Regions from separate parts of the Homo sapiens genome. Here all the other regions are linked to region 6. The links are contacts of gene promoters, found by promoter capture Hi-C in blood cells and fetal thymus (Javierre and others, 2016). All regions are on one chromosome and are shown on one strand. The core of a region is centred on a gene start or on the middle of the fragment in contact, and the rest is flanking DNA. Distances in the headings are between cores, read along the strand shown. Region 1 overlaps OXR1 (oxidation resistance 1). Region 2 overlaps OXR1 (oxidation resistance 1). Region 3 overlaps ZFPM2-AS1 (ZFPM2 antisense RNA 1). Region 4 overlaps ZFPM2-AS1 (ZFPM2 antisense RNA 1). Region 5 overlaps OXR1 (oxidation resistance 1). Region 6 holds the start of OXR1 (oxidation resistance 1).

The links. Contacts are between HindIII fragments. The CHiCAGO score rates a contact against its expected background, and 5 or more counts as called.
Region 1: a contact is called between a fragment that was not itself captured here and the fragment with the promoter of OXR1 in region 6, in 1 of 17 cell types (monocytes). The highest score is 5.1, in monocytes.
Region 2: a fragment that was not itself captured here is called in contact with the fragment with the promoter of OXR1 in region 6 in 2 of 17 cell types (megakaryocytes and endothelial precursors); the score reaches 9.1 in megakaryocytes.
Region 3: a fragment that was not itself captured here is called in contact with the fragment with the promoter of OXR1 in region 6 in 1 of 17 cell types (endothelial precursors); the score reaches 6.6 in endothelial precursors.
Region 4: a contact is called between a fragment that was not itself captured here and the fragment with the promoter of OXR1 in region 6, in 1 of 17 cell types (endothelial precursors). The highest score is 7.6, in endothelial precursors.
Region 5: a contact is called between a fragment that was not itself captured here and the fragment with the promoter of OXR1 in region 6, in 4 of 17 cell types (endothelial precursors, monocytes, M1 macrophages and 1 more). The highest score is 6.6, in endothelial precursors.

Annotation. Positions count from the first base shown.
Region 1 is chr8:106,555,980-106,559,241 of GRCh38, reverse strand. The region is part of intron 3 of OXR1 (oxidation resistance 1); the gene reads right to left. The region is part of intron 1 of OXR1-AS1 (OXR1 antisense RNA 1); the gene reads left to right. Among named protein-coding and RNA genes, the nearest start is that of OXR1-AS1, 100 kb to the left of the region's middle. The HindIII fragment of the contact is 731 bases long and covers 1,043-1,773 here.
Region 2 is chr8:106,528,194-106,531,513 of GRCh38, reverse strand. All of the region lies in intron 3 of OXR1 (oxidation resistance 1), which reads right to left. The region is part of intron 1 of OXR1-AS1 (OXR1 antisense RNA 1); the gene reads left to right. Among named protein-coding and RNA genes, the nearest start is that of OXR1-AS1, 130 kb to the left of the region's middle. The HindIII fragment of the contact is 158 bases long and covers 1,945-2,102 here.
Region 3 is chr8:105,938,574-105,941,688 of GRCh38, reverse strand. All of the region lies in intron 1 of ZFPM2-AS1 (ZFPM2 antisense RNA 1), which reads left to right. Among named protein-coding and RNA genes, the nearest start is that of ZFPM2-AS1, 120 kb to the left of the region's middle. The HindIII fragment of the contact is 574 bases long and covers 1,436-2,009 here.
Region 4 is chr8:106,005,793-106,009,073 of GRCh38, reverse strand. The region is part of intron 1 of ZFPM2-AS1 (ZFPM2 antisense RNA 1); the gene reads left to right. Among named protein-coding and RNA genes, the nearest start is that of ZFPM2-AS1, 53 kb to the left of the region's middle. The HindIII fragment of the contact is 2,076 bases long and covers 519-2,594 here.
Region 5 is chr8:106,579,993-106,583,218 of GRCh38, reverse strand. All of the region lies in intron 3 of OXR1 (oxidation resistance 1), which reads right to left. The region is part of intron 1 of OXR1-AS1 (OXR1 antisense RNA 1); the gene reads left to right. Among named protein-coding and RNA genes, the nearest start is that of OXR1-AS1, 76 kb to the left of the region's middle. The HindIII fragment of the contact is 581 bases long and covers 1,629-2,209 here.
Region 6 is chr8:106,268,527-106,271,720 of GRCh38, reverse strand. OXR1 (oxidation resistance 1) reads right to left here and starts at 1,531. Exons shown (of 17, transcript NM_001198533.2): 1 at 1,354-1,531. RefSeq lists silencers at 1,177-1,536, 1,557-1,806. The HindIII fragment of the contact is 2,469 bases long and covers 1-1,984 here.

The sequences.
Region 1 (3,262 bases), core at 159-2,658, 290 kb before region 6:
AACATGCTACTGGAAGCTGGAGGAAAGTCCATCCTTGTTATAAAGTGACAAAGAACCTGGCTGAATTGTGTTCGTGTCCCAGTGTTTTGTGGAGGATAGAACTTCTGAGTGATTAAATGGGGTATTTCAGAGAATAAATATCTAAGTAAAGTGTTGAGAGCGTGGCATGGTTTCTCTTCACTGATTATAGAAAAATGCAAGAAAATAAAAATGAATTAAAGGTGAAATTTATAATCAAAAGGGAAGCCAACTTAAAGATTTGGAAAATTCTCAGGAAAAGACACCATCACTACCACCTTTTCTCCTAAGAATTGTTGCCCTATTTCCAAGAAGTATGTATATAATGTGTGCTTGTTCTTGATGTGGGTTTATTGGCATTTAGGGTAGGAGGGATGGACAGACACATGGATATAAGCAGTATACTTGTTGTGAAGATATAGGGAATACCAATGCTAATTGGGCCCTCACATCCTATGTGATTCATCTCACTTGTTGAATTCATCATCTTATGATTTTGGAAAAGATTTTCGGTTGTCTTGCAATAAGGTTGTTCCTAATAAAAAAAGTAGAATTCCACAAAACAGTAGTTTTACTGTGATTTCTGCTATTTTATGGGTATATTAATAAGATATCAAGATGCTTGGGGCAACCTGGACAGGAAAAGGATTGTAATATGAATGGGACAGGGCTAACATAGCCAACATTTAACCATTGTGTATCAGAATACTTTGTACTGGCTAATATATAGCTGCTGCCTTAGCCTTCCAATGGCCCTCTCCCTTGCTGTCCCGGATCCTCCATTTGGCCTACCAGGCCACCTGATTATCTAGGAACTAGAGGACTGTCAATCACCTGGCAGGGGGAATCCAGGGTGGTGATTCTGTACCAGGGCAGTGGCTTTGGAATTGCCAGCTCATAGAATTCTGAGTTTGATAAATGGTTGTTGTTTTAAGCTGCTGGCTTTTGGGCTGCTTTGGTACATAGCAATACGAAAAGGCTATGTGCTTTTACTCCCCAGAGTAGCCTCTTCAAGAGGGAAGCTTTTCCTATGCATATGTCCTAGAATTAGGAGTTCATTACTCATGTGATTCTCACAGTAACTCTGTGAAGCCATGATTGTTACGCCCACTCTGTACATGGTGAAATGGAAGTTTAGAGAGATAAAATGACTTCTTCCAAGTTAAAAAAATCTACTCAGTGGTAAAGCGGAAGTTCAAAGCCAGTCTGACTTCAAATCATAGAGATTAACAATCACAGTAAAATGTAATATACTTTGCTTTGCTCATATATCTTCAGTTTTCAATTCAGTTTCTGAGTTATGTTTAAATTATCACTTATTGATTTTTCCTTCTTTATTGAGATGGAAGTCTCTTCTTAAAAATAAAAACAAAAGGAACAAGGCAAGTCTCAACAAAGAACCCACTTCTGAGAGAAAAATTCTGTTACCAACATGTGTGGCCTTTAACCCTGCATAGGACAGCAGATTTTATGTACAACTGTAAGGGCTTGTTCTTGCAGCATTTTAGCTAAATTCATCATTAGGTGCCTGCAGAGAGAGCGAATAAATGCTAAGTCCCAATATTCCTTTTTGTTGCCAGAGTATCCTATGTGATGAATTCAACATGTGGAATCTAGGAAAAAAAAATTGAGTTGCCTTGCAGTAAAGTTATTCCTAATTTAAAAAAAAAAAAGTAGAATTCTAAAAAACAGTAGTTTTACCATGCTTTCTGCTAATTTATGGGTATAGAATTTTGTAGCTCAGATATACAAGCTTAGGAAATGCTACTCACCTGAGTTGCCTGTCAATCACCAACATTATTGAGGAAAAACTTTAGTCTAGAACTCTATGAATAACATAACCCCAAACTATATGATTTACATAATTAAAATTTCATTTTAACCTGAACATTACCTTACAGCTATGTATGGAATTATTTCCTATGCTTCAGCTTACCTTAAAAAGAATAGCAAGAAATGAAAATGGTTTTAAGTACCAATAAAGTGGAAAGATGTCTTTAAATCCTGTTGATCAGCTTTTCAGGTATATTTCCTCAATTAGAACAGGAAAATAATCTTAATTAATTGGAAGGGCTCAATGTAGGAAATGTTTTATTAACCACAATTAGAGCAAACACAAAGGGAGAAAGGAATTTGAGTTTGTATATTATGTGTGAGAAGAAAAAGAAAGAATTAGATTCATATAAGAGTTTGGGGAAAAAAGAAAACTGCAGGTGAGTATTTGTTCAAACTGCGTAAATATCTTCAAGGTTACAAAATTAATGAGGGAAGGGAATTGCTCAGTCTTGGATGATGAGAGCAAGAAGCCACGGCTCAAAGCTATGGGAGGAAAGCTCAGACTAGCTGTTAGGAAACACAGTGAGTTAGAAAGAACATTTAGTGGTGAAACATATACACAGAAAAGTGACTGTGAAGCAACACCAGCAGAATCATTACATAATCAGTGAGGAAAGATTATGTAAAACAGACTTGGCATTAGCTGGTCATCTTGCATAACAAGGGGCTTCTGATCAGCTTTTGCTGGAGTGAGTTTTCAATTCCTTTTTTGCCTTTTGATTCTTAAGGACATATGACTTCCTACTAAGCTCATCTTTCTGTGCATGATCTCATTTAATTAGAACAATTTGTGAATTAGATCTTTCTATAATCCTGTTTCCCAGATGAAGCAAATGAGGCTGAGAGATATTAAGTATTCCACCCAGCTCACACACACACAATAAAGGCAGAGGCAGGATTCATTTGGGATTCTCTACTTCTTGATGTTTACATGACTGGCTTCTTATCATTTAGGTCTTAAATTAAAAGCAATTTCCTTGGAGATGCTTTCCTTGATGGCCCAATCTCAAGTACCCACTTACTGTCCCACATCTCTCTCTGATGACATCATAAGGAACTTTTAAAAATTATTATTAGTAAGGCAAAATGTGCATAACATAAAATTATTGTAAAGTGGACACTTCAGTGGAATTTAGTGCATTTGTAACATTGTGCAACCACCACCTCTATCCAGTTCCAAAATATTTTCATCACCAAAAAGGAAGTATCATATCCATTAAGCAGTTGCTCCTCATTTTGGCTACCCCAGGCCCTGGCAACCATCAATATGCATTCTGTCTCCACAGATTGATCTTTTCTGAATATTTCATATAAATTGATTCATACAATATGTGACCTGTTTCTGTCTTACTTCATTTAACTAAGTTTTTTCAAGTTTTATTTACATCATAGCATCTATCAGTACTTC
Region 2 (3,320 bases), core at 774-3,273, 260 kb before region 6:
AGAGAGGATATCAATGCCCTTTCTATCAACATGTATGAAAATTTAAGCAACACAATAACCTCCAAGAATCTTTGAGTACAAATCCTAGCAAATAGAGAACATTGAAATGCAGCAGGGAGGCAAATACTGTTAAAAGTCTTACTGATTTGTATACTGGGTTGAGCTGCCTCTATATGCCTAATCCATAGTGTTTCTCATACTAAGAGGGTTTATAAATATAATAATTCATTCATTAAGAGTTTATGTTACATTAGTTAAAAGAGTTCATTTAAATCCAACGCATATTAGTTTTTTCTACAAAGCATATTAGTCTTTTTCTGTAAGACAGAAGGTTCAGATTTATGAAAGAGGCTTATCAAATTAATGATCAAACAGAATGCTAAGATTTGTTGGTCATAATTAAGGACACATTATGGGCTTTCTCCCTCAAAAGATACCAATCTAAATTAACTAAACTTTTTCATGTAATATTTTGGAGGAATTTCACTTTATTATTTTCAAACATATATGGTAACATAAAATAAACTAACAAATAACCTTACTTTAAAACCAACTTATTAATTTCTCTTAGTACATATTTTTCCCTACCAAAAAGCAGTTTTCTAAGCTAAATTGCTGAACCTAATATCTTCTGTGTCCTGAAATCATGTTTCAGTTATAAACCCACATAGATTTTTTTTTCATATTGTACTAACACAAAGACTTTTTATCTCAGTTTGTTCAGATGATCACAAAATTTCAGTTAGTGAATTTTAAAGCTGTTTACTAATAGCTTGCTTCTATGTAGATGTACACATAATATATAGGGAATGTATCATGAATGGTCACTGTAACATTTATAATCTTCAGTTGAATTCACAGTTTTTAACTATAGTAAAAGTAGTTTCAAAACTTTGGTAGAAACAGCAATAGAAGATTCTCCCCCCAGTTGTGTCTGGTTTTTACCTATTTTTCCATTCTCATAAGTAATATTCTTTCAGTCATAACTGTTAACATGGTCAAAATTTCATTGACCAGCATAAATCCTGTAGTATTTTTACATGTAAAGAAATATCTTGACTCGGTACGGTTATGCACACCTGTAATCCCAGCTACCCTGGAGGCAGAAGGCTGACTTGCGCCCAGGAATTCAAGGCTGTAGTGAGCTATGATCGTACCACTGCTCTCCAACCTGGATGACACTGAGACTTCATCTCATAAAAGAAGAAAAAACAAATAAGAAAATATATATCCTTAGGTACAACGTGGGAAGAAAAGCAAATTAAAAAAAATCAGGAGATACCAATAGTTTCATTTCTGAATGTGAGCAAGATCCTAGAAGCTCTTTAAATTCATACTCCTAAAAAAATGAAAACATTGGGAAATGTAGACATATTACTTCACTGTTCAAATCGCCATTAGTTCTATCTATAAATGTTTAAAATAGAGTAGGTCTTGCTTAATAATTTGTCATTTTCTTCCCCTCACCATTATTCAGTGAAATGGGATGTTCATAGACGTGTTAGCAGGTTAAAAGGGCAAGTTTTGTTTGCTAACAGCAGTGAAAGACTAATTTTAATAGTGATTTAGGAAATTTCAAACAGGATCATGCTTATTTCTCAACCATGAACAATGTCCATTTTAATTATTCCATAAATTAAACCAGTATAGGTTTAATTGGGCAGTTTAGAAATCATTAAATAAATTGACAGATATAATTTGTTTTTGAATAAGTTATAAGACTATTAGGCTGTAGCTCAGACATAATACCAAAACCATTTGCTCAAGGAGACCTCAGGGTTACTGACATTTCTTAATCTGTTTATCATGGCCATGATTAAGCTGTGTTTCTTGATTCTGGGTTGATTACTTCTGACAGAGAACAATCACAGAATCAGGGCAAAAAAGAATAAAGCAAATCTATAAAATAAGGTACTAATGCTATAAAACTAGAGTTGGCAAGCTTATTTAACAAATTATAGGCACTACAAATTTATAGGAATATCAAGCAAACATATTTTTTCTCATTCTGAGAATACCTCCGGTTCCTTGGTAAATTTTAGTTAAAATTACATAAATGATTGGTTAAAAAAAATCTAATTTATCTTGAAAGAAATAAAGCTTTCATATTAATTTTAGAGTTGAAAGTAGTTTCAGCTTGTGGGATTTCCTTAATCTCATGTTTTAAAGTAGATATTAAATGAAATAAATGAAAAATGTTGTAAAATAAAATCCCAATCAAATATCGCCCCCAACAAACATGCACATGGAGATGTAGACTGTCAGAAACATATATTGAATCCCATGGTCTTATTAATCCACAAATGAACCAAAAAACTAAACTTGAAATCTTGATATCCTCAAATTCCACTATCTTGATAAAAAAAAATTCCATATTGGCTACTTACACAAACTTTGAACCACTCTTCAAAAGCTGTGAAATGCCCAGGTCCACTTAGGGACTTTTAGCTTCCATGTGTAACAAGAAACCTCAGCAAATGAAATAATTTTCCCTAAAAATTTTTGTGATCCAGAAAATGTAAAAAGCCATCAAACTGTCAAAACAAATTTCAATTCAAACAAAGTCATAGTTCTCAAGAATTTAATTTAATTGGAATCCTCAGAGCAGCTATGTGTTTTAGTTTCTGTGCTTATAGACAGTGACCTGCATGCCAAGATAGTTCTGTTGATTAAATCACAGAGACTTCCTGCTTTTCCATGAAGAATCTTCTAACTTGGAGAGAACGTTCCAGGTCAGTGGTGACCTAGTTTCACACTGCAGAATGTGCCACCTCTAGCAAGATTAGTTTTTTCCTTTTATTTTTTAACCTCCTGTTATAGTATTGTTACTTTAGGGTTATCTTTTTTATTAAATGAGAGGCGTACAAGTTATGTGATGATATTTTAAAGTGTCTGGTGTACTGCAATTAAAAAGCAGTTAAATATGTGTCTTGCTTTTCTCTTCAGAGCTTCCAAACTAGTTATTACTGTTTTAATTTTGCCTACTACTGAGAAGAATTCCCAGGGAACCCCTAATTCCATAGGCTCTCTTTTCAATATGTAAGCAGCCTGGGGTTAGTAAGATACAAATTTGTATTTAACTGTGCATCGTTAAGTTTGGAATGTTGAAGGTATTCTATCCTGCAAGCAGGGCAAAAGACAGGATCATTGCATTGGATTTTAGAATTTGCAATTTCACAGACCATCACAATTTTAAGAGAATATTTTAGGGACCATTTCCCAACTTAATATTTTGACAAGTAAAATAATTTTAAAAGAACAGACTTAAACAAATATCCTAAACTGATACCATAACTAAGCAGTCATTTCACAAAAGACCA
Region 3 (3,115 bases), core at 473-2,972, 330 kb after region 6:
TCATATTGAAGAAAAGCTATTTAATTTTTACTTCATTTTATTTTAGCTTTGAATCTTCATATATCTCAAAGAAAAAGTTAGCATTTGGAGGTATAAGACTGCATAAAAAGGTAAATTTTTGACAAATCCAAATATAGGACTTTTCTAAAAAATTAAAACAAATTCAAGTCTTTTTATTTCTCCTTTTATAAGCTTCTTTTAGAGTGAAGATTAGAAGAGCACGGTGAAAAAATTCTTTTTTATTTTTAAGATCGTACATTTTGTTATTTTATGCTGAAGCTAAGTTATATTGACAGTGTTTATATAATACTTAATAAATATTAATTCTTTATTTTGTTGGACAAATCAAAAATTGTGGTAATCTGTTTACACCTAAGAAATTTTTCTCATTTTAAAATAAAGAATTTTTTTTTTTTTTTTTTTTGAGACAGAGTCTGGCTCTATTGCCCAGGCTGGAGTGCAGTGGTATGATCTCAGCTCACTGCAACCTCCACCTCCCAAGTTCAAGTGATTCTCCTGCCTCAGCCTCCTGAGTAGCTGGGATTACAGGCGTGTGCCACCACACCCAGCTAATTTTTGTGTTTTAGTAGAGACGGGGTTTTGCCATGTTGGCCAGGCTGGTCTTGAACTCCTGACCTCAAGCGATCCACCCACCTCGGCCTCCTAAAGTGCTGGGATTACAGGCATGAGCCACTGCGCCTGGCCGAAATAAAAACTTTTGAAATAAAAAGAGTTGGCCTAAAAATATGTATTTACATGCTTTCAGCAAATAACTAGTAATTGAAGATGGCTAAGTTTATCTGAATTCTAGACTATATTCATTTTATTAGATACAAACAGTTTAGTTGCCAAAATGAAAACAGCATAGACGTAAACAAAATCCATCGATGGTTTGATTGAAGTGTAGTAAAGACATCAGAGTAATTTCTGTCGAGTGCATTGAAGAGTCAGAGGCTCTTTTAGGTCTGTCCAAATCATGAATTTTATCTTATGCACGGGTGTTCATTATATTGAGTTTTGTCCTCATTTAATTACTACAGGAACAAATTATGTTCTACTGGGACTTTGAGACGGACAGTTGATGACCCTATAGCATTGGGGATTAGAGATAAGATGAAATGGAGTAGGATTTTCACATAAATGATCATATACCCTACCGATATCTCCAGACTCCTGATTCAAGTGTCTCTAAGAGGCTTAACCAGTTATTAAACACATGACCAAAATGACAAGTGATAAACTATAAAAGATATCCTTTAAAATGAAGGTGTAAGTAAAGAAAGTCAATAGGTAAATATAAAGTGGTGTATTCTTGGGATCAGAGGATTTGTGGTTTTGGTTGTCATCTCTTTCTCTCAATGGATGAAGATCACCAAATAAAGATCACCAAATTAAAGTAGATAACTAATATAAATAGTTAAAATGCCCCCAAGCTTTTAAGACAAAAATAATCATTCAAGCCACTTCATTGCAACAACGATGGCCAAATCTATTTAAATAACTCTATCTACTTTGTGCTGCCACTCCATCTTGTGGCCAAATTCCAGCCAATACTTGAAAAGAATTTTAAATGAAAACAGAACACGAACTCTTAGTGAAGAGACGTCGTGGGTAAACTAACATCAAGTTTGAACCAGTTCTATGTGCTTCAGCATTTTTAACAAGGTAACCACATTTTAAAAAGATGATTGACAAGCTAATGTACTGCCAGAGGATGAAAGCCATTATGGCAAGATATTAACAAACCATGCTTTATTAGGAAACAGCCAAATGATGCAAGGGACATTCATTTATTTAACAAATATTTGTTGAAAACGTATGTATCAGGCACTGTTTTAGGATTGGACTTTATTGCCATGAATGAAACATAAGCATTTCTGTCTCATGGAGTGTATATTTTACAAGGGAAAACAGATAACAAATGATCTAAATATCTAGGGTACAAGATAGGCATAAAAAGTTGAGTCTTCTCCTCTCAGTATGACTCTCATAAGAAAAGTTTGCAAGCTTTGGGGGCCATTTTTAAAGTGTAGATAATAATAAAAATTTAGCCAATATCAATATATTGCACATGGGCTCAAAACACAATTTAAACCAAATGATAGAATTCTGAAATGATGACACAAGAAAGTTTAAAACAAATATTGTGATGTGTTTTTCACATTGGGGCAACTAATGAATTACCAGAAATTTCGTTTCCTTATTAAAAGGAATCTTAATTTCCCACAGATGATTAGTTTTAATGTTCAAATATGTATGAAATGATAGGTATAATGCTCAACAGATTTAGCCTCCTCATAGGGAAACAGAAGGCCTTTGGTGCAAGAATTTCTCCCTGTCTGAAATGTCACAGTACCCCAAATTTGGATGTGGAGAGGAGACTTGAGTTAAGTGAAATATACAATGGATGAAAAGACGAAGGGAGTAGAGATAAGCTGGTGGGCAACTAGATGGGAACCTCAATTGTGTGGACACGGGGGTAGGCAGCAAGATGGAAGGTATGTTAGGAACAAGTGTAGAATGGCCAACTAATCTAACTAGTTTTTTCCTAGAGCTGATGCTGGGCACAGAAGGGCATACTGAAAGATAGTGGAGCTTTGTCATATTCATGTTCAACTTGGAAGCAATTCAACATTATAAAAATTTAGATAGGTTGGGTGTGGTGGCTCATGCCTCTAATCCCAACACTTTGGGAGGTTGAGGCGGGCAGATCCCCTGAGGTCAGGAGTTCGAGACCAGCCTGGCCAACATGGTGAAACCCCGTCTCTACTAAAAATACAAAAATTAGCCAGGTGTGGTGGCAGGCACCTGTAATCCCAGCTATTCAGGAGGCTAAGGCAAGATAATTGCTTGAACCGGGGAGGCAGAAGTGGCTTGAGCCGAGATTGCGCCATTGCACTCCAGCCTGGGCAACAAGAGCGAGACTTCATCTATGTATATGTATATATATATATATATATATATATATATATATATATATATATATATATATATATAAAGTTAGATGGTAGTTGTGGAAAGGGTATGGGCCTTGAACTCATACCAAAGAGGCCAGAACTGGTGGCTCACACCTGTAATCCCAGCACTTTGGGTGTTCATGGCGGGCAAATTGCTT
Region 4 (3,281 bases), core at 307-2,806, 260 kb after region 6:
CCTAACTTCATGTGAAGCATAAAAACTAAGCCACATTTGGTTAAGCTACTATGTGCTTTTGTTCCAAGGCCTTCCAGTAACTCCGGCTCCCAAGAGATTAGGGCTTAGCACCTGAGCATTTTGGTATCCTGAAATACCTACTTAGTCTTGAGAACTCATTTTCTTTCCCTAACATAGTCTCCTCCAGGACTAGAGGATTGCTTAAGTATTAACCTATTTGAATAAGGATCTGATATTAGGACTGATATGGCCTAATTCTTGTCAGTGTCCTCCTAGAGGAATGGATCATTTCAGCCAGTGAAGGTATGAAGGATGACACTTCACAGCCAAAGACTGGAGTTGTGTAGTGAATGAGCAGATTGTCACACTTTACAATGCGGTCATTAACTTACCTAGCTCTAAGTACTCCTAGTCTCCTAGACGTGAACTTCTTGCTGACTGTTACTTACAGCACTGGAGTAACCTTATCTGTCCTCATACATTTCAAAAATTGATAATTGCCAGACCAGAGCCAAGCTTGCTCTGACATTGAATACTATGTTTTGAGCTGTATAAGCGTCTTATTTTGGATCAAATTTTGCAACCATATTTTGTTTGCTTTAGTGTTAGGCAGTCTGAGTTGCTAAGATCACATCCAATAAGCTGAACCCTCTCGTATTATGACTTATCTGTGAAGCAGATATTACCTGTGAATTTATCATGCAATTTGAAATTCAGAATTTCTTATGAAAATAAAAATTTGAACTATAAATAGTTTCAAATTGGAAAGCTCTTTGGAACTAGTATTATCATTTATGTCTTGACCTGAAAATAACAGAAAATAACAGCTTTTTTATTGAGTTTGGATGTTAAAAACCTTGAAATGTTCAAGAATTAATGAGACATTGAAGTTCAGGAGCAGAGGTTTATTCCTGGCTGAATCATTTGTGTCTAAAACATTTTTATTTCAGGCCAGAAAGAGTCCCCAAAGACTCAGAAGATTTGTACTGGTCTATACAGTTCAGTACACTCTATGCTTACCACTGTCAAATGGGAAAGACAAGGCTAGAAGATTTAAAATTTTAACTAACAACATTCCCATTGCTAAGATTTCAACACAGGTGAATTGCCGCTTTGTAAATTTTGATGAGAACAACATGAAATATGAATGGTTTGTGTGTGTGTTTGTGTATACAGATCACATATACATGTGTTTAATATATATACATCTGACAATTACTGGGTAATTATTTATATTCACATTTAAAAATTCTATACTGTAATTTTAGTGTGAGTAAAGACAATAGAAGACCATTTTGAAGAAGTATATGGAATATCTGTTACAATATTCAACAGAGTTATGTTTGTTCCGCAAAATAAACTATCAGAAGCACCAAGAAAGGAATAACTGCAAACTATTACCACAGTAAGAAATGTAAATTTTATAGACTTCACCTAATTTAGTCCAAATAATAAAGTGTAAGTTAGATGCACCAATGCTGCTTTATTCACATTTGTTCAACTTCATAATGTTACTTATTGACTTATTTCTTCTATAAGAAAGTGGCTGATGATTCTGTATTGAACCTCAGTCAAGGCATGCAATAATAGCTAGAATGTGATTATGAAAGTAACACCTAAAATATTGTACATCTATTTTCATTACCTAAAATGTGCATTTTTATATTATGCATTTTTATATTATTTACAAGCAGGCTGAGGAGATGAATGCTCCCAGTTAATCAGTCCTTTAAATAACATTATTTGAACTGTATCAGGAAAAGTGAGAAATTACAAGAGAAAAATACAGCAGGCCGGGCGCGGTGGCTCACGCCTGTAATCACAGCACTTTGGGAGGCCGAGGCGGGCGGATCACGAGGTCAGGAGATCGAGACCATCCTGGCTAACACAGTGAAACCCCGGCTCTACTAAAAATACAAAAAAATTATCCGGGCGAGGTGGCGGGCGCTTGTAGTCCCAGCTACTCGGGAGGCTGAGGCAGGAGAATGGCGTGAAGCCCGAGGGGCGGAGCCTGCAGTGAGCCGAGATCGCGCCACTGCACTCCAGCCTTGGTGACAGCGAGACTCCGTCTCAAAAAAAGAAAAGAAAAGAAAAGAAGAATACAGCATAATTCTCTATGACTTATTCTATTTCAATAGCATTTGCATATAATTTTGAAATACAAGTGACACACATACAAAAACGAAGCCACCAAGTTGTAACAATAAATAAGAAAAATAATTGCTTACTGCAATGGTATAGAAAAAGTATATATCACTTGATATTATAAAAATAAGATTTAGGCAGAAAGGTTTAGTTTAGGGAAATTGGCATTATTATAATATCCTAGAATGTTTTTAATGTGTATGTTTGTGTCATTGTCAATGTCAAAGCAAATGTCTCCAAGTCATTGTGCAACAAGCTATTGCTAAAACATGACTATCTCACTACTGCATGAGTTTCCCAACCTTATATGAGGTCTCTATTGTCTTCTCCCCCCCAATATAATAACTTCAAATTCCTTACTTTCAGTGTATTCCATAATTTGTCTAGCTAAAGAATTGTATATATACATAATATATGCAAAATAGTCATGTACGTACACACACAAAGCTTGAACCATCACCATGAAAATATTAGGGAAAAGCAGGAGACTCTTTAAAATACATTTTAAAAGCAAGAAAAAGGAGGTAAAGGCAACATAAGTAGGGAAAACATATTCATTCCGTTTCAGCAGAGAGGCAGAAACCAGATAACATATTTCATTGAATCTAAAAACCATTCATTTTAAGATGAACAGTTTTTCTTGTACCACCAAGAAAGAAAAAAATGCTTCCAATTATACTATGACACATTATTGATGAGAAGATGCATCTTAATTTCTGCAGTACTAACGTGTGAAAAAGTTTTTTAAATTGATGAAACATGTACTTAATGTTTTTCATCTTTCTTTTATTTTGAGGGGCTATCTTCCTTTTAAAGTACCCATTCTTAATATTAATATTTCAGATTAACATTAACGTTAAGTTTTACTTCCAAGTAACTGAAATGGTAAATGAGAATGCTAACAGGCTGTAAACATTTCCTTTTTCCATGAGTTACTTCTGAAATCTAAAGCGTGTTTAGTGCCCCATTCATAAGGAAAAGATTTGCCCTGCAAAAGAACAAGTCATAGATTTGATACAAGTGAGTTTTATTATTAAGTGCCTGGAGCCTTATGGGCTCAACAATCTGAATTAGTAATGCAGAACTGAGAATGAGTTTGTCTATTTTTATTTCTCCTAGACTAATGTTTGAAGTGC
Region 5 (3,226 bases), core at 670-3,169, 310 kb before region 6:
TCACGAGTCAGTGGAATCAAGTGACTATATTTTATATGAAAAATACTTAGCCTTATGAATTGCCCTTAAAGCTTAAGGAAAAACTATACTTTCTAATTCATACTCTGTTTATGAAAGTTATATATTTAGACACAAATAATTTTAGTCTTTTTCAAAAAAAACTCCCTCCTAACAACTAAAAACTTAATCAATAGGAATAAGTTTAAAATAGCATAACCACATTATGTCATAGAAGTAGAGAAGCAATGGAAATGGAACTTTGTTTTAGTTTTGGCTGAGAACCCCAAGGCTGAACACTGTGGGGAGGGTGCCAAATATATTCATATCCTAAAAGTGGTGCCAAGAGACTGTGACATTGGTTTGGTCCATCATGTCCCTGAAACGTATAAGACAATTGATAAGGAAGATGCTTCTCCAAAGTCTTATTATTTTATAAATTAGTAAGTTCTTTGTAAAATAAGCCTGCTTGTCAAGTGATAAGCTTTAGTGGTTATTTTCTAAAAAGAGGAAAAACAACACTTCTGTGGCTTAATAAGCTTTTTTCACTACTTTATAAAATGTGGTGGGTGTTTTTCCTCTAACTTCATTATTATTAAGCTTTGCTCAGAAACTCAATAAGGAATTTGTCTCTTTAACATTAACAAAGACTAAATTAAAATGTTGTAAAAGACTGCCTACTTTTATTTAACGCTCTCCATTGTGGAATACTACCACCAAGAAGAAATAATTGTAAGCTCTACAATGGCAGGCACAATTCTGTTTTAGTCATCATGCCAGCTAACCAGCATAGAGAATATGGGAAGAAAAACCTTGTTGTCCCCAGGTTTGCTATTTTCAGCTGCCACAAAGAACAAGTGCTTTGTTTTTAGTTTATTCTTAACTCTTACTCCTATAGTTCCAAATAATCTTGTTTTACCTAATAGGTCTTTGTTATTTTTATTTCTCTCCAAGTGAGCTGCCCTGGATTTTGAATTTTGATCAGTATTTACCTTCATATATATATATATGTTCCTTCATATATATATATATATATATATATATGTCAATAGAAAAAAATCTGTCTTGCTTGTTTTTTAAATCCATTATTGTTATAAATTATCTGATAGGTTTAGAAAATTTACTAGTCACTGGCTAGAAAATGATAATTTTCTTTTTGTTGTTGTTGTTTTTTAGGTTTTTTTTTTTTTTTTTTTTTGAGACAGAGTCTCATTCTGTTGCCCAGGCTGTGGTGCAGTGGTGCGACCTCAGTTTACTGCAACCTCCACCTCCCACGTTCAAGCGATTCTCCTGTCTCAGCCTCCCTAGTAGCTGGGATTACAAGCACCTGCCACCACACTCAGCTAATTTTTGTATTTTTAATAGAGACAGGGTTTCTCCATGTTGGTCAGGCTGGTCTTGAACTCCTGACCTCAGATGATCTGTCTGCCTTGGCCTTCCAAAGAGTTGGGATTATAGGTGTGAGCCATTGTGCCTGGCCCTGAAAATGATAATCTTCTTTTCTCCATACAAGCAATTTTTTAAGAATCTCAATATGGTTGTCTCAAGTGTGACATTAAATGTATTAGAAGTTCATTTTATTCATCTGCGTTCATGTTTAAAATGAAAAAAGACATTTACTTCTAGAAGCTTCTATGAATGAAACAGGAATTGGAAACCAGAAAAATCAAGTGACATTAATAGAAATAAGACAAATGTTTAAAAGGTTTTTTTTAAAAAAAAAACACAGAATCAAAATATTACTGACAACACACATATTCTTTTCTCAAAGTCAAAAGTTGGCAATTTCTAATACTCCATAAAAGGGCCACTAAACAAATATCCGAATCTACTATTATTTGCATAATACTCTATTTGGTTAATTTATACATTCCAGTAGCAAGACTCCGCTTGCCTCAACAAGTGGTTGACATTTTTTAGGCAAATGAAAAATTAAAAAAAAATAGAAAGGCATGATTTCAGAAACTTACTTCTCAGCTTCATGGATATTGGGCATATTTCCTTGGAATTCAGCTTTCTGCAGCAGTGGTTTGTCAAGTTCTCTTTCAAATGTTCTTGCTATTTCACCGGATTATTTCCATCCAAAATTCTAAATCTTTAAGTCTAGACTGTCTTTGAATAGCACCATATTTTTCCTCCATCTTTAGCAGACTATTGAAGTGAGAAGTCTACACCTTCCCACTTGTCTTCCTCTGACTAATTTTAAGAAGCTTTTAGTGCTGGGTAAGACAGTGGTAGCCACAAGAATGAGGAAACAAGCATGTGTTTTAGGTTCAAAAGAGCAAGTCATTCATTTACTTAAGGAATGTTCAGGAAAATATTTAGCTTCTGAAAGTGAACACACTTGAAAGGCTGGATAATATTTAAATATATTGGCCCTGCATTTTTGCTCACAAAATATTAGCTTAAGTCACATATTTCTTGAAATAAAAATTATATTGCATCATTAAAAAAAGAAAAAGATATAATGTTTTACAGACAATAGCAAGTGTTGGTGAGAATGTGGAGAAATTGGAACTGCCATGTACTATTGGTAGGATGTAAAATAATGCTACCACAATAGGAAACAGTATGGAGTTTCCTCAAAAAATTAAAAAAATAAATAAATACCATAGGATCCGATAATCTCAGTTCTTGGTATGAATTCCAAACAATTGAAAGCAAGGTTTCTATAAGATATCTGCATATTTATGTTCACAGCAGCACTATTCACTATTGCCAAGAAGTGGCATCAAACTACTTGTCCACCAATGAATGAATAGATATACAAATGTGGTATATATGTACAATGAAATATTATTCAGTCATAGAAAGAAAACCCTGTCATGTACTACAACATGGATGAACCTTGAGGATATTAGGCAAAGTGAAATAAGCTAGTCACAAGAAGATAACTATGTAAGATTCTACTTTTCTTAGGTATAGAAAGTGGTCAAATTCATAGAAACAAAAGAATTGAGGGAGGGGAAAAGGAGAGTTGTGATTTAATGGGTATAGAGTTTCAGATTCACAAAACCAAAACAGTTCTGGAGATGGCTTTTACTATTATGTGAATATTCTTCACACTACTGAACCATACACTTAAAGATGGCTAAGATGGTTTAAAAAAGACATAATGCTTTAAAGGATACTTGTTGAAATTATTCTCATGCCTATAGTTCTGTGCATTTAGAGTCACAGCTGCCAGTCAATCATACACAGGAAGAAAATGCTGGCCATCAGTATGCTT
Region 6 (3,194 bases), core at 282-2,781:
AGCAAAGAATGCTACCCTGGGAAAAGGAGGCAGAAAAGACGTAGGGAAGTATGTTCCCCTTAATCCCTTCCCCGTGCCGCCCGTAGATCCCTGGATCTTCTTGTCACGGAGACAGGCTGCAGCCACACACGCGACCCCGGGCCGGAAACATGCACACGCGCGCGCACACACGCACACACACGCCCCGCTGCGAGTTGCACGCTGCAGACTTCTGCCTGACTTCCCGGCCAAAAACACCGCACCTCTGGGGCCAGACCACGAATTCCTGTGGCCTAGAACTGACACCACTCCCCCTACCCCCGCAATACACACATTCAGACCCTACACTGCACCCTGAGCGTGCCGGGAACCACTGAACGGAAGCCCGAGCAGCTCCCCCCGTAAACGACTACCTTCCCCACTGCCTAATGTCTATTTAAATCTCCTAAAGCTCGCCTACAGCGAGCCGAGGTGCGTCCAAGCCGGGTAGTAGACGGAGGAGGAGCCAGGGGTGAAAGTGAACCTCAGATAACAGTACTAAATCACTATTCAAGGGGCGGCACGGGGAAGCCTCCAACCCTCTCCTGAACCTTTCAGGCCCTACCAGCAGCCCAGTTCCTCCGCCCGATACTGCACAGCTCCCCCCCTCTTCACCCAAATCCCTCAGCGATTTTCCAGTCGGCCCTCCAGGCCACTTTCTACATCCATCCTTTCCCCAGCCAGTTCCCAACATGTGGCCTCGGGTACTCTAGCGGGAGACAGATTCCAGGCTGACTCCATCATGATGTGCCCCCTAGCCTTTTACTGATTCCCCAAATTATCCGAATCCACTCGCCCCTCCGGAGCCCACTGTCCCTTCCACCGGCGTCCTTTGCTCTCGTCCAAATCCGCTTTCCACGCGCCCCACTTTCCACCCATCCTCCTGCCGTTCTGTTCAAGACACGCTTGCCCTCCACTCTGCGCCCCCAACACTGCTCTCACGCTGCTCCCACTCTATCCCCCGGCGACACCCCCACTTTCCTTCTGCGGCTGTCCCTGGCCGGGCTCCCGCGCCCCAAACCCAGCCTCCCCGCCCGGTCTCCTCCCTCGCCGCCCGGTCTCCTCCCTCGCCGCGCGGTCTTTCCTTCTTCCCAAGTCCGCCCTCTGGGCCCCCGCTGGAGCTAGTTCTGCCCTCCTGCTCTGCCCGTCGTCCCCGCTCGAGCATCCCAATGGCCACCCGCTTTCAAATTGGCTAAGTGGCTCGGAGAGGCGCCAGGCACAGGGGGCAGAGGCCAGCCGGCTCTCCCGGGCGCCAGCCGCGCCTCTCGCTATCCCTCCTGGACTCCCCCGGGCGCCAAGCCCTCGCCCTAACGCCCAGCAGCCTCACAAACTTACTTGCGGGTCGCCAGGAGGGGGCTGCGGTGAGCGGCGGCGGGCCCCGCGGCGGCGAGTGCGCCCCTCTCGGCGGGGCTGGGCGGCGCGGCGCCGGCGCTGAGCTCCTGTGGCCGCGAGGTGAATGGGCTCAGCCTGACGCAGCCCAGCTCTAGCCCCGCTGCTGCCGGCGCCGCTGAGCGCTTGCAGACATGCTCAGTTTCCGGACCTGCCCGCGTGGAAGCTACCAAGAGCCGGCAGCGGCGGGGGAGACTGAGAGGAGCCGTGGGGCGCCGCGAGCCGGAGGCTACCACGCCGGGGGCGGGGGGAGGCACGCACCGCTAAAAATAGCTCCTGCGGAAGCCACGCTGGCTTAGCGCGCACCCCTCCCCGCGCGCGGCCCCTCTGGCTGGGGTTCGGGTTTCTGCTCTGGCTACCGCGGTGGGGACCCCAGCTCGCCGAGTCCTGCCAGGCGTCTGCCTGCACTAGGATCCCCATCCCGGTGGAGACGGCGCCTCCAGTTCAGGCGCCCACTCGAATAGCCTGGACTAAGCCAGAGCTGCCCCGATTTCGGGGTCCCGCCTGTCGGGCAGCTCTAATACTAGGCTCTCCCTAGAGAAGCAGAGGAAAGTTTTGTTAAAGCGATAAAAAAGCTTCTGCAAGGAAAGCTGCAAGGAAATTTGTTCAGATTTACGGAGGAAAAAAATGTTCTTCAGATGCTTTGGTTGCTGGGAAAAACAAGGAGGAAAGGAAGGCGAAGTCTGACAGCCTAGAAAGGGACCCAAGGCAGCTTGGAGCGGGCTGAAGGGGGTTCTGCAAAGAGCTTCTAAAATTCAGAATTCTTTGCAAGGCGTTTGTGACTCCTCATTCCGCAGTGTTTTGCATAATTCGTTGACACCCCACCCTGACCTTGGAGATTTTCTTGTTCCTGTCACCTGAACTGTAATTTACTTTCTCCGCATGCTGCCTTCACTCCTTCCCCCTCCAACCCGGTTTTAAATTGCAAAACGAAAAGGGCGCAAACTCTGGATGGGTAGATTCCCAGACCTGAACTGGAACCTGGCTGTTCTGTAACCCTGAGGAAAGGAGCTGGTCCTGTTGCCGAGTTCGGGATGTATCCCAGATCTCCTGTGCATCCAGCAAACACTTCAAGCGTAGGAGCCTTTCAGCCACCTCACCTGCAAATTAGCTATTTCCCGCTATTAGTGTTCACTCTATTCTACCTTAATTTCTGATCATTTATTATTATTTTTTAATTCTGTTCTTTAAAGTAAGAGGTACAGATATTTCCTGGGTCAAATTTCCGTCTTGTTTCACTCACCTCTCACAGCCACCCAATGAGAGAATCATTATTATTCCCATTTGACAGACAGGGATGTTGAAATTTAGCGACAGGAGCTCATCGCTTGTCTGGAATAATAGAGTGTTGAACCTAGGGTCGGCCAGACTAGAAACTTTCATGGTTTCCGCATAACCTATTTCCCCGAGTCAATAGCTTTACCTGAGATAAGGGATCAAGAAAATTAGATACTATTCTGAGTGGCGTGGCGTGTCAACAGTAAGCCGATTGATAAGCCGATTGCGGGTTTTGTTCTCCATTATTTTTACCTAATTTCTTTACGAGCATTCGCAGCTTAAATTTTCTGTTATGTTGAAACTGATAGCGTTTAATTTTTATTCTATCAGAAAGATTTTACTGAGAATCTTCTACAAGCAATGTATAGACTAGGTATGTATTTTATAATTATCTCAGTTCAGACTCTGTGATAAAGCTACTTTGTTTTCCCAGTATTATAAATTAGTTAGACTTTGCTAACCCTACTAAGTAATGTACATGTGATTTTTTCATAGAACTGTAGTGGAAT